3 separate regions of the Homo sapiens genome follow, and all the other regions are linked to region 1. Evidence: promoter capture Hi-C in 16 types of primary human blood cells and fetal thymus (Javierre and others, 2016). All regions are on one chromosome and are shown on one strand. Each heading gives the region's core, a stretch centred on a gene start or on the middle of the fragment in contact. The rest is flanking DNA. Distances are from core to core; before and after follow the strand shown. Region 1 holds the start of ANKRD10 (ankyrin repeat domain 10). Region 2 overlaps LOC124903251 (a long non-coding RNA gene). Region 3 overlaps LOC124903211 (WAS/WASL-interacting protein family member 1-like).

Region 1 (3,716 bases), core at 810-3,309:
AGTAGACTTTTGAAAAGTGATTTCAGTCGGTGTTTTTTAAAAAACTGTGATAAAATACACATTAAAAATTACCATTTTAAAGTAACTATTTTAATCCCCAGAGACAAGTGGAGGCACCACTGGATTAAATTTTCTAAGTGACCATCTGTAATGAGGCTTTAAGCATTCTACAGATCGTTGTTCACTGACTATCACCCAGTATTGTGTCGTTCTCAACCAGGGTAGAAAGGACAGAATCCTAAAGTTTAGTGTAAAAATAAACCACAGCAAGAGACACTCTGGAGGGAGGAAATCCTCAGATTACTGACTGCCTCGGGAAATCTATTTAAGGCTGCACGCAGAAGCGCAGGGAGGAGGCTTTATTACTTTTGTTTGTTAAGAAACTCATTTCCCCTGGGCACCTGTTTTCTCCAGCAGGTACTACGGTTGCACAACTTCAGAGACAGTGCCACAGGAACCTAACAGCCCTTGAGGACTGATTAACTTGCTTGTCCCACCCCGATCGTCAAAACTCCTTTTCATTTCTTTTATTGAAAGAAAAGTGACTTTTCCACTTTAAAAGAATCAGAAACTGCTTTCCAAAAGACACAGCTGCTTTGTGAATGTAGCACCAGGGGCAGCAAGGTAAACCGCAACTTCATCAGCTGGTAACGACATTACCAGGGCCAGGCCTTCTTAAAGTAACTTATTTCACATTACCTCTCACATATTTCTGCAAAACCATTTAACCCCATCTCATCACTTACGAGAAAAACACTATACACATCCCTGAATTTCAGTGAATTAAGAAATATTAATTAAAACCAGTCACTTCTGAAATGCACGGTGAAATCTTATTTAAGATTTCTGAGAGCAAGTACCCCAACGACTTCACAGATGAGGAAACGGTAGCTATCCAACCTTTTAAAACCTTAAAGCAGCACTGTGTTCCCCCAGAATTTTCAGTTTAAGAAAAAAGAGGGGAACGTAAAGCCTCCACGGGAAGAGAATTCTGCTTAATTTAACCACTTCTGCAGTAATTTAGATCCAAGATAAACACAGCCGTCACTAATTTTGCTGAAGCGGGGCCAGCTACAAGCCTTAAAGCAAACCCAGAAGCTGGAGAGCCGGCCTCCATCCCACACAGCTGCCGGGGCCTTCCAGTCCCGCCGGGGCGCTTGCTCCTCGGCTGAGCTCGTCCGCAGCGCGGCCCTCGGCTACTGGCGAGGCTGTGCGGAACCAGAAGGTCGACCGCGCCCGGGCATTCCCCGCGCGCCTCTGACCCCAGCTCGGCTCCCCGGAAGCCGCCTGGGCGACTTCGCGGCCTAATACCCGGCTCTGCGAAATCGCTCGCGCCTCCGGCCCGGCCTGGAGGGCCCCGCACCATCCGCGCGCGCGCGCGCTCGCACAGGATCCGGCCAACAGGCGCCGGGACCCTTGGAGCCCGCCTTGTTAGAAACTTGCTACGCGCGCCGCCGCACATGCGCCCTAGGCCCCTCCGGACGCAGGCGCCACCGACCTCGCTTCCGCCCCGCGCCCCCCGGCTGCCCCGCCGCGACTCCGGGCCGCGAGCGCTGCCGCACAGGCGCCCTAGGCCCCTCGGGGCACAGGCGCCGTCGATCCCGCTTCCGCCCCGCGATCCCGGCACGCCCCACGTCCCCCGCACCTCAGACCCGCTTTCCCCGACTCCCACTGGACAGCCGGGGAAAATGGCGCCTTAAAGCGTTCGCACCCACCTTGCCGAAATGCGCGGCCCAGTGCACGGGCGTCCAGCCATAGAAGGAGTCCTCAGAGGCCAGGTGGGCGTGGGGTGTCTGCTGCAGCAGCGAGCAGAGCGTGGCCAGGTCCCCGTCGCGGCAGGCGCGGTGCAGCGGGAAACGGAGCGAGAGCAGCTCCTCGCTGGAGAAGCCCGCCTCTACGCCCGCGCCCGCTCCCGCCGCCGACATGGTCCGTCACCGGAGAGCGCGGGGCTCGCTGGCCTAGAGGACGCGTCGGGGAGGACTCGAGAAGCCGCCGCCGCAGCACAAAGGAACGAGACTAGCGCCGCGGTCGCGTCCCACAGGCTGCCGAGCGGAGCGCGCACAGAGGGGGCGGGGCGGGGCCTGGAGCGGCCGGGCTGGGGGCGGGGCCTGGCCCAGAGGACGCCTTGTGCAGCCGGGCAGGGGTCGGGGCCTGGAGCCGCGGACCTCTGGAGCCGCCGGGCAGGGGGCGGGGCTTGAGCCGGAGGCCGCCTGGAGCAGCCGGGCGGAGGGCGGGGCTTGGAGCTGCGGACGCCTGGAGCGGCCGGTAGGTGGCGGGGTCTAGCCTAGAGGATGCCTGGAGCAGCCGGGTAGGGAGCGGAGCCTGGACCAGAGGACGCCAGCAGCAGCCGATTAGGAGGCGGGGCATGGGGCTGTCGACGTCTGGAGCAGCCGGGCATTGGGCTTGGGCTAGAGGACGCCTGGGGCGGTGGGCGCCTGGAGTAGCCAGGCAGAGGGCGGGGCCTGGCTTGGGTCCACGCCTGGGGCGGCCGGGGGCGGGGCCTGGCTGGAATTGACGCGTGGAGCTCCGGTGGAGGGGGCGGGGCCTGGCTGGGCCGCTGCCTACAGCGGCTTCCGGGGCTTGGAGGTCACGGGGCTCGGAGGTCACGGGGCTCGGAGGTCACGGGGCTGGCTGTGTGGGGGGCTCAGGGGCGTAGAGTGGCCAAGCAGCGGTCTGAGCGGGTCCCGGGGCCTCCGGCGCGGTGGGTCTCGGCTGCGCCCCGGGTGCGGACCATGATGTTTCCAGCCTGGGAGCCGGTCCGGGCGGGGAATCCCGGCTGCCGGGGGCGCGGGTTGAGGCTCTGCGGGCCCGCGCCCAGAGCGGGTGGGAGTCACGGGTCTCCCGGAGGCCCAGTAGCGCGCGGTGAAGTTGTCCAGTAAAAATTTATGGAGCGCCTACGGGGAGCAGGGATTCTCGTTAAAATCTGGGAATCAGCAAGCCCTAGTTCCTTACAGAGCAGGACAGATTCCTCGGTTTTGTCCGAGGGACGCCTTCTTCGGAACCGAGTGCGGTGGGCTAGGACTATACGTTTGCAAGTTTAAGAGATAAGCGAGAAGACCAGACAGAGCAAACAATAAAAGGCTTTTTGTTGAGAACTGTATAAATGTAAGGGAGTACCAAATCCCCTATTTTGAATGACAGTATCACGGACTTTATTACATATGTAATTTTATTCTGATTATGAAAGCATCAGTAATTTCACTATTGAGGAATAACCACAATGTTTATGAATATTTCCTTTGCTTCTAAATATGCGGTCTTTTTAAATCATGTATTTTATTTCATTTGTATATATAGTTTTTCGCTGTGTAAACTTCCTTTTTGCAAAATTCTACGTCACAAATTGAACAAGGCAATTAGATGTCTAGGGAAGTACTGATGCACGAGAAAGCATATTGCAGCATTGGTTAATAAAACGAAAAAATAGAAACCTAAGATTTAACAAAGGGAAGTTGTTAACTAGTGGTGTAAACACTCAACACAGACATGTCTTCATACAGCAAACATTTGTTGAGTACAATGCTGAATGAAACACATTGAGAAACACTCTATAGTGGGGAAGTAGCAAATATTTCAATTCAGTGAGCAATTGCTAATGAATGGAAAATATGACACATAGAATCTATCTTCTCCCAGGGAGTTTGTAATCTGTTAGTGAAGCAGGAAAGAATAATCAAGCAATACTTTTTTGTTTGGACCAAAAGGGTGAGAATAGA
Region 2 (3,716 bases), core at 397-2,896, 1.7 Mb after region 1:
TTCGAGGTATGGCAACTAGATTTTTTCAGCTACCACCATCACAAAGATACAGGCACATCCTAGTGATGGTTTGTGTATTTTCTCATGGGTAGAAGCATTTCCATGCAGAAGAGCAGCAGCCTTGGCGGTAAGTAAAATTATCTTAGAGAAAATTATTCCGATTTGGGGAGTTCCTCAAGAACTTTATAGCAACAGAGGCACTCATTTCACTGCACAAATAATCCAGTTAGTATGCAAAATCTGGCCCATTTTCCAGCATTTCCATTGTGCCTATCACCCCAGTCATCTGGGTTAGTAGAATGCACAAGCAGAATAATCAAAACTCATTTGGCAAAATTAACTGAAGTTTTAAAACTCCCTTGACTGGAAGCTCTTTCTTGTTTTTGCTTCACCTAAGATCAGCCCTTATGGGTAAACACCAACTGTCTTCATCTGAAATTATAACGGACAGACCTATGAAATTGTCTCCAGGAAATTGTAAATCGATGATATTAAAAAGGGACAGGTTGTATTATTGCAGCAGCCTCATAAGGCACCTAAGTAAAAACTGTTATTTAGTAAAAGATTCTTTCCACAGTGAGCTCCAAGAAGCAAAAACTCAAGGAACACATACTTCAGCCAGGAGACTTTGTAGGAAACAGCATCCTTTAAAGGACTTTCTCCACCAAGGAGGAAGGAACCTTATCAGGGACTCCTAACCAACCCTTGTGCCACTAAGCTTAAAGGAGTTGATTCCTGGATACCTGCCACCCATGCAAGGAAAGCTGCTTTGTCAATTTGGACTTCATCTCAAATTGGTGATCTAAAACTAAAACTCTCCAGAACCAACAAGGATGAGAAGAAAACAACATGTGAGGCGATCAGCCTTCTCAAGACACCTGACCAGGCCTGTATCTAGACAAACCCTTAATATAATCATCGTCAGTAGATGAGGAAGGTCTTCCTTTACAAGTTCCCACCACACTTCCTTCTTTTTGTCCCTAGTTCTTCTGTTTTGTTGCTACCATCACCAGCCATTGCCCATGAAACAAACATCTTCTTGCAGTAGGCTTGGGCCTGTGCTAGTAAATTACAGGACAACACTCGTTAGGTGTGTGGCCTTGCGCCCCTTTCTGGTGGTTCTGGCCTACCATGGTGGCAGCTCCTCTTCAAGGACAAGAGTAGACAGAATATCAGAAATGTGTCTGTGTTTCTCAGGACAGTCATTGGTGCTTAGCACTAGTATGATGAAGGCAAGTGTGCATCACTGGCCTATGAATGATACTTTACAAAGCAAAAGCCATAGGAAGAGCTTTCCAGTAAAAGTCCACATACCTTAATGCTGGTACTACACCAGCTGAGAGATTAGACCACTCAATATCGGGATGGCATAACACAAACTTGGGATGGTTTCACCTGACTTACCCTCTCTTTGGGTCAACTTAGTTCACGTGCCCCTTTACATTGGGAACAAAAGAATCATATCAAAGATCCCTGGCCCAGGAGCACTGGAGATACGGGATGGAACCCAGAGAACAGTGCATCTACACCATTGTGTTACAGAGTCCTGGCTGGCATGCCACTGAGTGGGCATAGTGACCGGGTGTTTACTGGTTGGCTCCAGATGGAACATCTGGACTCTGTGATAATGACCTATGGCCATGGTTACCCCCAAGGTGGCCAGGACACCATTCTCTGCATTATGCCTGGACATAGGATGGAATAGTTCACAACCGACATAGATAGTAGATAAAACTAGGTAGTCTGAATAATTCAAAGTATGGACTTTGATTCATAATGCTTCAATACTGGTTCTTAAATGTAACAAACAACACACTTTTAATCTGTGCATTGTGAGGTGCTGAGCGAGAGGGGCCGGCTGCCAGGTGCCGGGTGGTGGGTGGGTCAAAGGCCAAACGCAGGTTCCACCAGGCAGGTGTCACTCCCGGCAGGAGTAGAAACCAGAGGCCTCACTGAGAGTGCCAGCCCCCACCCTGGTGTTTCATTTTCCCCCACGGCACTGGGTGAAGGTTAGGTGTGTCTGTGAAGACAGCAGTGAAGGGATACTGTCTCACTGCCCAGAGAGCCCCTAACAAAAGGTTTCTGCCATTCTATGGCCCTGGAGTCAGGGGAAGAGAGAGAGGGAGGCAGCTGAGAGTGGAAAAGTGCTGAATGCAAAGTCAGAGTGGGAAAAATGTCTTCCAGGCCCCCTGAAAAGGAGGCTTTGGCAGAGGTACCTAAGACAGGCCTCAGCCAAGGGACCCATGTGGTCTCGGAAGGGAGGTGCCTGGGTTGGGCACAGGGGATACCCAGGGCACCCAGGTCCTTCCCCGCAACAGCCTTCAGACACGGCAGTGCACTGGCCACACACCATGAGGCAGCCAGGTGGGGCCTTTGTCATCACCCGTGGTCAGACCTGAAAGATCCCACAGGGCATTTGGGCTGCAGCCAGCCAACTTTCCAGGCAGCATGTTGCATTCCAACTCTGTTTCAATAAAACTAGTTTCGAAAAAGAAAGAAACATTTCAAAATATTGACGGGATGCTGCTAAGTTTTGATCGTTGCATTAGAAAGAAAGAGATTAAAGGAATAGTTTAAGCTTCCGCACCAGGAATCTAGAAAAGGAAAACCAAATCAAGCTCAAACTAAGTAGAAGGAAGGGGAGTGAGATCAGAATGGATGCTGGGCGCGGTAGCTCACACCTGTAATCCCAGCACTTTGGGAGGCCAAAGTGGGTGGATCACCTGAGGTCAGGAGTTTGTAACAAGGCTGGCCAACATGGTAAAACCCCATCTCTACAAAAATACAAAAATTAGCTGGGCGTAGTTGTACGCACCTGTAATCCCAGCTGCTCAGGTGGCTGAGGCAAGAGAATCACTTGAACCCAGGAAGCAGAGGTTGCAGTGAGCCACGATGACACCACTGCTCTCCAGCCTGGGGGACAGAGAGAGAGACTTTATCTAAATTCCAAAACTTTGGGAGGCCAAGGGCAGATCACCTGAGGTCAGGAGTTTGAGACCAGCCTATCCAACATGGTGAAACTCCATCTCTACTAAAAACACAAAAATTAGCCAGGCATGCTGCCGCGTGCCTGCAATCCCAGCTACTCGGGAAGCTGAGACAGAAGAATCCTTTGAAACTAGTAGGCGGAGATTGCAGTGAGCTGACACCATGCCACTGCACTCCAGCCTGGGTGACAGAGCAAGACTCCATCTCAAAAAAAAGAAAAAAAAAGATCCGAATGGCAAACAGTGACCTAGAAAACAGTAAGACAAATACGGAAAACAGAAGAAACTAAAAGAAGTTGATTCTAGGAAAACAAACTGATCAGATTTGCTAGACTGGACAAGCCAAAAGGAAAAGAAAAAAACAGAAATATGCCAAATCAGGAATAAAAGAAATAACATACAAGGGTCCATGGTGAAACTAAAAATATCACAAAGAAATTTTAAAATGTTTAAAAAAATAGATAATTTAGATAAAATGGACAAATTCCTAAAGAGACATAAATTATGAGCACTGACCAACAATGAATAGAAAATTTGAACAGATGTATAAGTAACCAAGTTGAATTATAGTTAACTACATGCCCACAAAGAAAAGATCTGAGCCAAATGGCTTCATTGGTGAATTTTCTCAAATGCTTAAGAAACAAATGATATCAATCTTACAGGAAATAGAGACAAAATAACACTTCCCAAATATTTTACAAGGCCAGTATTAACCTGATACCAAAG
Region 3 (3,716 bases), core at 886-3,385, 1.1 Mb before region 1:
CGGGCGCTTTACGGGGCGTCCTCTGCGCCATTCACTTGTCAGCTTGTCGGGAAGTTGAAATCGCGTTTGGGAGGTAATAGGAGAAAGAGATCGGGGACGGCAGGCGGAGAAAGTGCGGTTTCCATAGCGCCGGGGAGAGGGCGGACCCGCGAGCCAGCGGTCCCTGAGCCGGGAGACCGCGCGGGCGTCTCTCCAGCCCCCGCAGGAGCGCCGCCTTCCTTCCGCAGGGGCGTCCTCTCCCCCCACCGCTGCAGGAGCACCCCCTTCCTTCCTCGGAAGCGTCCTCTCACCACACCGCTTCAAGAGCCCCCCCTTCCTTCCACAGGGGCGTCCTTTCCCCCTCCGAGGCAGGAGCGCCCCTTTTCCCCCCACAGGAGCGCCCTCCCCACCCCAGGAGCGCCCTGCGCCCAGCAGACGGGCAGGTGGGCGGGCGTCCACTACCTGTGTGCGCGGTGCGGGCGGTGACTGCCAAGTTGGAGATGCCCTTGGAGAACTGCTTCGAATTCATGTATCTACTGGGCTTTTGTGACTTTCAAAGCCTATAGCAAATAAGCACCCCTGCAATTACGTCTCCTCAATGACCAAGTCAGGGTGAGGTGAGGGCTTCCTGAGTTCAGATCCCAGCAAGCTCCCGATCCTGCGCAACGAAGAAAACTCAACAAAACAGGCTTTGGCTGTTTATTTTATTTTTTTTTTAATTGTGCCTTCATGAAATAATTTACAGCAATAATTTATCTTATAATATTGGTTATTGTTTTTAAGTCCCGGATGTTTACTTTTGGATGTCCTCTATAATTCATAGAAGTATCTTAAAAGTAATAAAATCTTAATCTAAGAGAAAATAAGTGTAATTTTTGAAAGAGTGATATATATTTTAATATGTTTTTGTAACATGTGACTTGAAGATTGTGTTGGCTAATTTTATGTGCCAAGAGAGCCCTGACTAGTACAAAGATTATAGCGTTTTTATTTTTAGCATGTATACAGTTAGGATTATTGATCAGTAGCCTGAATTTGGGAAGAATAATCATTGTGGCAAATATCACCCAGTGTGCCTCAAAAAGGTGTGTTTAAAGTTGATCTTCCATTTTTAAATCATACCTTAAAAAAAAATACCTCAAGAAATGCCATTTTAAGTCTGTGCACCTATGTGTGCATGTGTGCGTGTTTGTTTATATAATAGATTGTGTGATTGTGTGTGTATAGGTATGTGTGTATGATTGTGTGTGTTGGGGGCGCCACCTTTATGAACATTATGCTTCGGCGTTCTTTTTAGATCTTGTTACCTTTTCTTACGTTCACAAATGTTGCCTAGCAATATGTCTAGTCAGGAAAGATGAAGGGATTCTTATCTTGGTGCTTGAAGAAAATGTGGTGTAGTTTTATTGGCTTTGTGATCACTTACATCCCACTTTTATGAGGATGTAAATGGGCCACCTCTATGTTCCTGTATGTTGCCAGCCATCAGTAGACAATGCTAAAGGAACCACCACTTTTAAACATCATGTGATGGTTTCTTCTGAGAAAGTATATTTTGCAATCTTTTTCTTTTTCATGTTGACTTTTATTATGCAGTTGCATTTTCATATCCGTATTGAACATTTACTTGCTGTGCCTGTCACACGCTAGCAGGTGTCATCTTTTCCTGTTTGCTTGTTTCTTGGGGCCATCCTAGTGTTAAAGGCCAGTGTTTTTAAGGTGTCAGCAGCTCTGGATTGGCAGTTAGCACTTTCCCCATGTACTGCCTCAGTTACCAGACTGGGGACAAAAGAGAGAAGGTTAAAGAATTATCACCTATGTCCGTGGTATTCTGTCATAGAGAGTATAAATTTCCTACAGCAAACTGGAAATTAATTGCAATTCTGCAGTTAGAACCTCCAAATACAAATGTGGATGATACAATTTCAATTCTCATTGAGAGTCAGCCCATGAAACAAACCAACAGTAAGAAACTCTGTAATTAGAAGTATCCCAGTCCTCTTCCTCAACCGAGGAACTTGTTTTCTTTCCCCCTTTCTATTGCCAGATAAGCTATTTATTTATTTAAAGCTTGTTCTACACCTTGTGATTTTCCAACTGTTCTTCCATACTTTTTCAACAAAAGTCAGCTAATAACATCTGCCAACATGCTCTGCACGCAGGACTGGCTGGGGCTGGCATGGCCTCTTGCCAGCAAACAGCCTGGTTGAAATTTTTTCTCATGGTCCAAGATCTTTCCTTGGAAGCTTTCTTTCCTTTCACAGCTAATAAAATGGCCATATCTTTCAGCAGGGAGTTTTTTCTGTTTGTTTGTTTTTTCTATTTTTAACAGAATCATATACAATAATGATTATTTTATTAGAAGTCTTCTGAAATAATTACTTTTCAAGAAAGAATCAATTATATAAAAGTGTAGAGATTTAAAAATATGTTACAGGTTCACAATACAAATACTAGTAGCACTACCAATAATGAACATCACTAATTATTTTCTTTGTTTCATATAGGAAAGGCAAGTATGGGAGGAGAAAGGTGAATAGCATTTTATTGCTTGTGAAATTTTCTTTCTTTTTTTAGTTCTTTGCCCTGTAGGTGTTTGACAGTATTTTGTATTTAGGTGAGCTCAATCTAAAAACTAAGCAGATTAAGTGGAATGCTATATAACTAGTTAGAATAGCTTTAATTTAAAAGGTATTTTAAGAGGGAAAGATTTTTAACTTCACAGGTTTCTGTCAAAGGATATATTTAATCTTTAAAATGAGTGGCACCATTTCATTATATTTCATTTTATTAGATAATGTTGTTCAGTAGCTCATTTGAGAAATTCCATTCCTCTGATGAACGAACTGTGGACAGACTTTTCCTCATCTAGGGTTTATAAGGAAACTTCTTGCACTTTACCAGCAAATTTATTTGCTAATGTTTCAACTGAAATTTCACAAGAGTTTTGTAACATGCTAACTCTGTGTATGGGCAACAGAATGACTTACATGAGAGAATATAACTGCTGTTTGGATCATTTGCTATGTATGGCATTGCAAACATTTAAAGTATCAGGATTTGTTAATGGAATTGATCAGCCCCTTGGAAATTATAAAGGCTTTCTACTTGTGTGTTTATTATTCTTGTTAAAAATATGGATCAGTCTCTTTCCTAAATGTTCATTTTATGAGGGAGGATTTTCTAAAATAAATGATTATTTAATGTGCATATATGATAGAACAAACTACTATAACTTTTTTAAAGTCTTATCAATTGAATTAATACTGTTTAGAAAAATATGTTGTAGTTACAAATGCAGCTAATCCAGTATTCTCAACATTTTTTCATTATAAATATAATTATGTTGAAGAAATACATAAATGCCCAATTAAAAAGTGACTGCGGTTAGGAGTTGAAAATATTTATTAATATGCCTCTGGATTTTGTTCTGTTTGAATTTTGAGAATGTGTTTCTAGATTTAAGAAGCAACACAAGCTTTTTTTCCCAGAAGGCTTCCTATTATTGAAATGGAAATTATACATTAATGACTGTATAACACTAGTAGATATTTTTAAAATGCAAGAGCATCTTCTTAGATCATTACTTTTCCTTGGAATGCTTGGCCCCTGTAATATAATACACCGGTATTTTGCATGATGAAATTGATGTCCTGTGTGTTGCTTCATGTTGCTATCCTAGCTGCCGATTAAAACGTTTTTTTTTTTTCATGCCAGAGCAGAACAAAATTGTCTGC

The links. Contacts are between HindIII fragments. The CHiCAGO score rates a contact against its expected background, and 5 or more counts as called.
Region 2: a contact is called between a fragment that was not itself captured here and the fragment with the promoter of ANKRD10 in region 1, in 1 of 17 cell types (naive CD8 T cells). The highest score is 5.3, in naive CD8 T cells.
Region 3: a contact is called between a fragment that was not itself captured here and the fragment with the promoter of ANKRD10 in region 1, in 1 of 17 cell types (total B cells). The highest score is 5.4, in total B cells.

What each region holds. Positions count from the first base shown.
Region 1 is chr13:110,913,010-110,916,725 of GRCh38, forward strand. It overlaps ANKRD10 (ankyrin repeat domain 10), which reads right to left and starts at 2,060. Exons shown (of 6, transcript NM_017664.4): 1 at 1,716-2,060. The coding sequence starts at 1,925. RefSeq lists enhancers at 672-1,348, 1,072-1,201, 2,700-3,374 and silencers at 1,312-1,681, 1,952-2,611, 2,742-2,901. The HindIII fragment of the contact is 15,206 bases long and covers 1-3,716 here.
Region 2 is chr13:112,590,478-112,594,193 of GRCh38, forward strand. It overlaps LOC124903251 (a long non-coding RNA gene), which reads left to right. Exons shown (of 2, transcript XR_007063945.1): 2 at 1-3,716. It also overlaps a transcript of TUBGCP3 not described here. Among named protein-coding and RNA genes, the nearest start is that of TUBGCP3, 4.2 kb to the left of the region's middle. The HindIII fragment of the contact is 1,860 bases long and covers 717-2,576 here.
Region 3 is chr13:109,787,373-109,791,088 of GRCh38, forward strand. LOC124903211 (WAS/WASL-interacting protein family member 1-like) reads left to right here. Exons shown (of 2, transcript XM_047430835.1): 1 at 1-73; 2 at 228-3,624. The coding sequence ends at 465. Among named protein-coding and RNA genes, the nearest start is that of IRS2, 2.6 kb to the left of the region's middle. The HindIII fragment of the contact is 176 bases long and covers 2,048-2,223 here.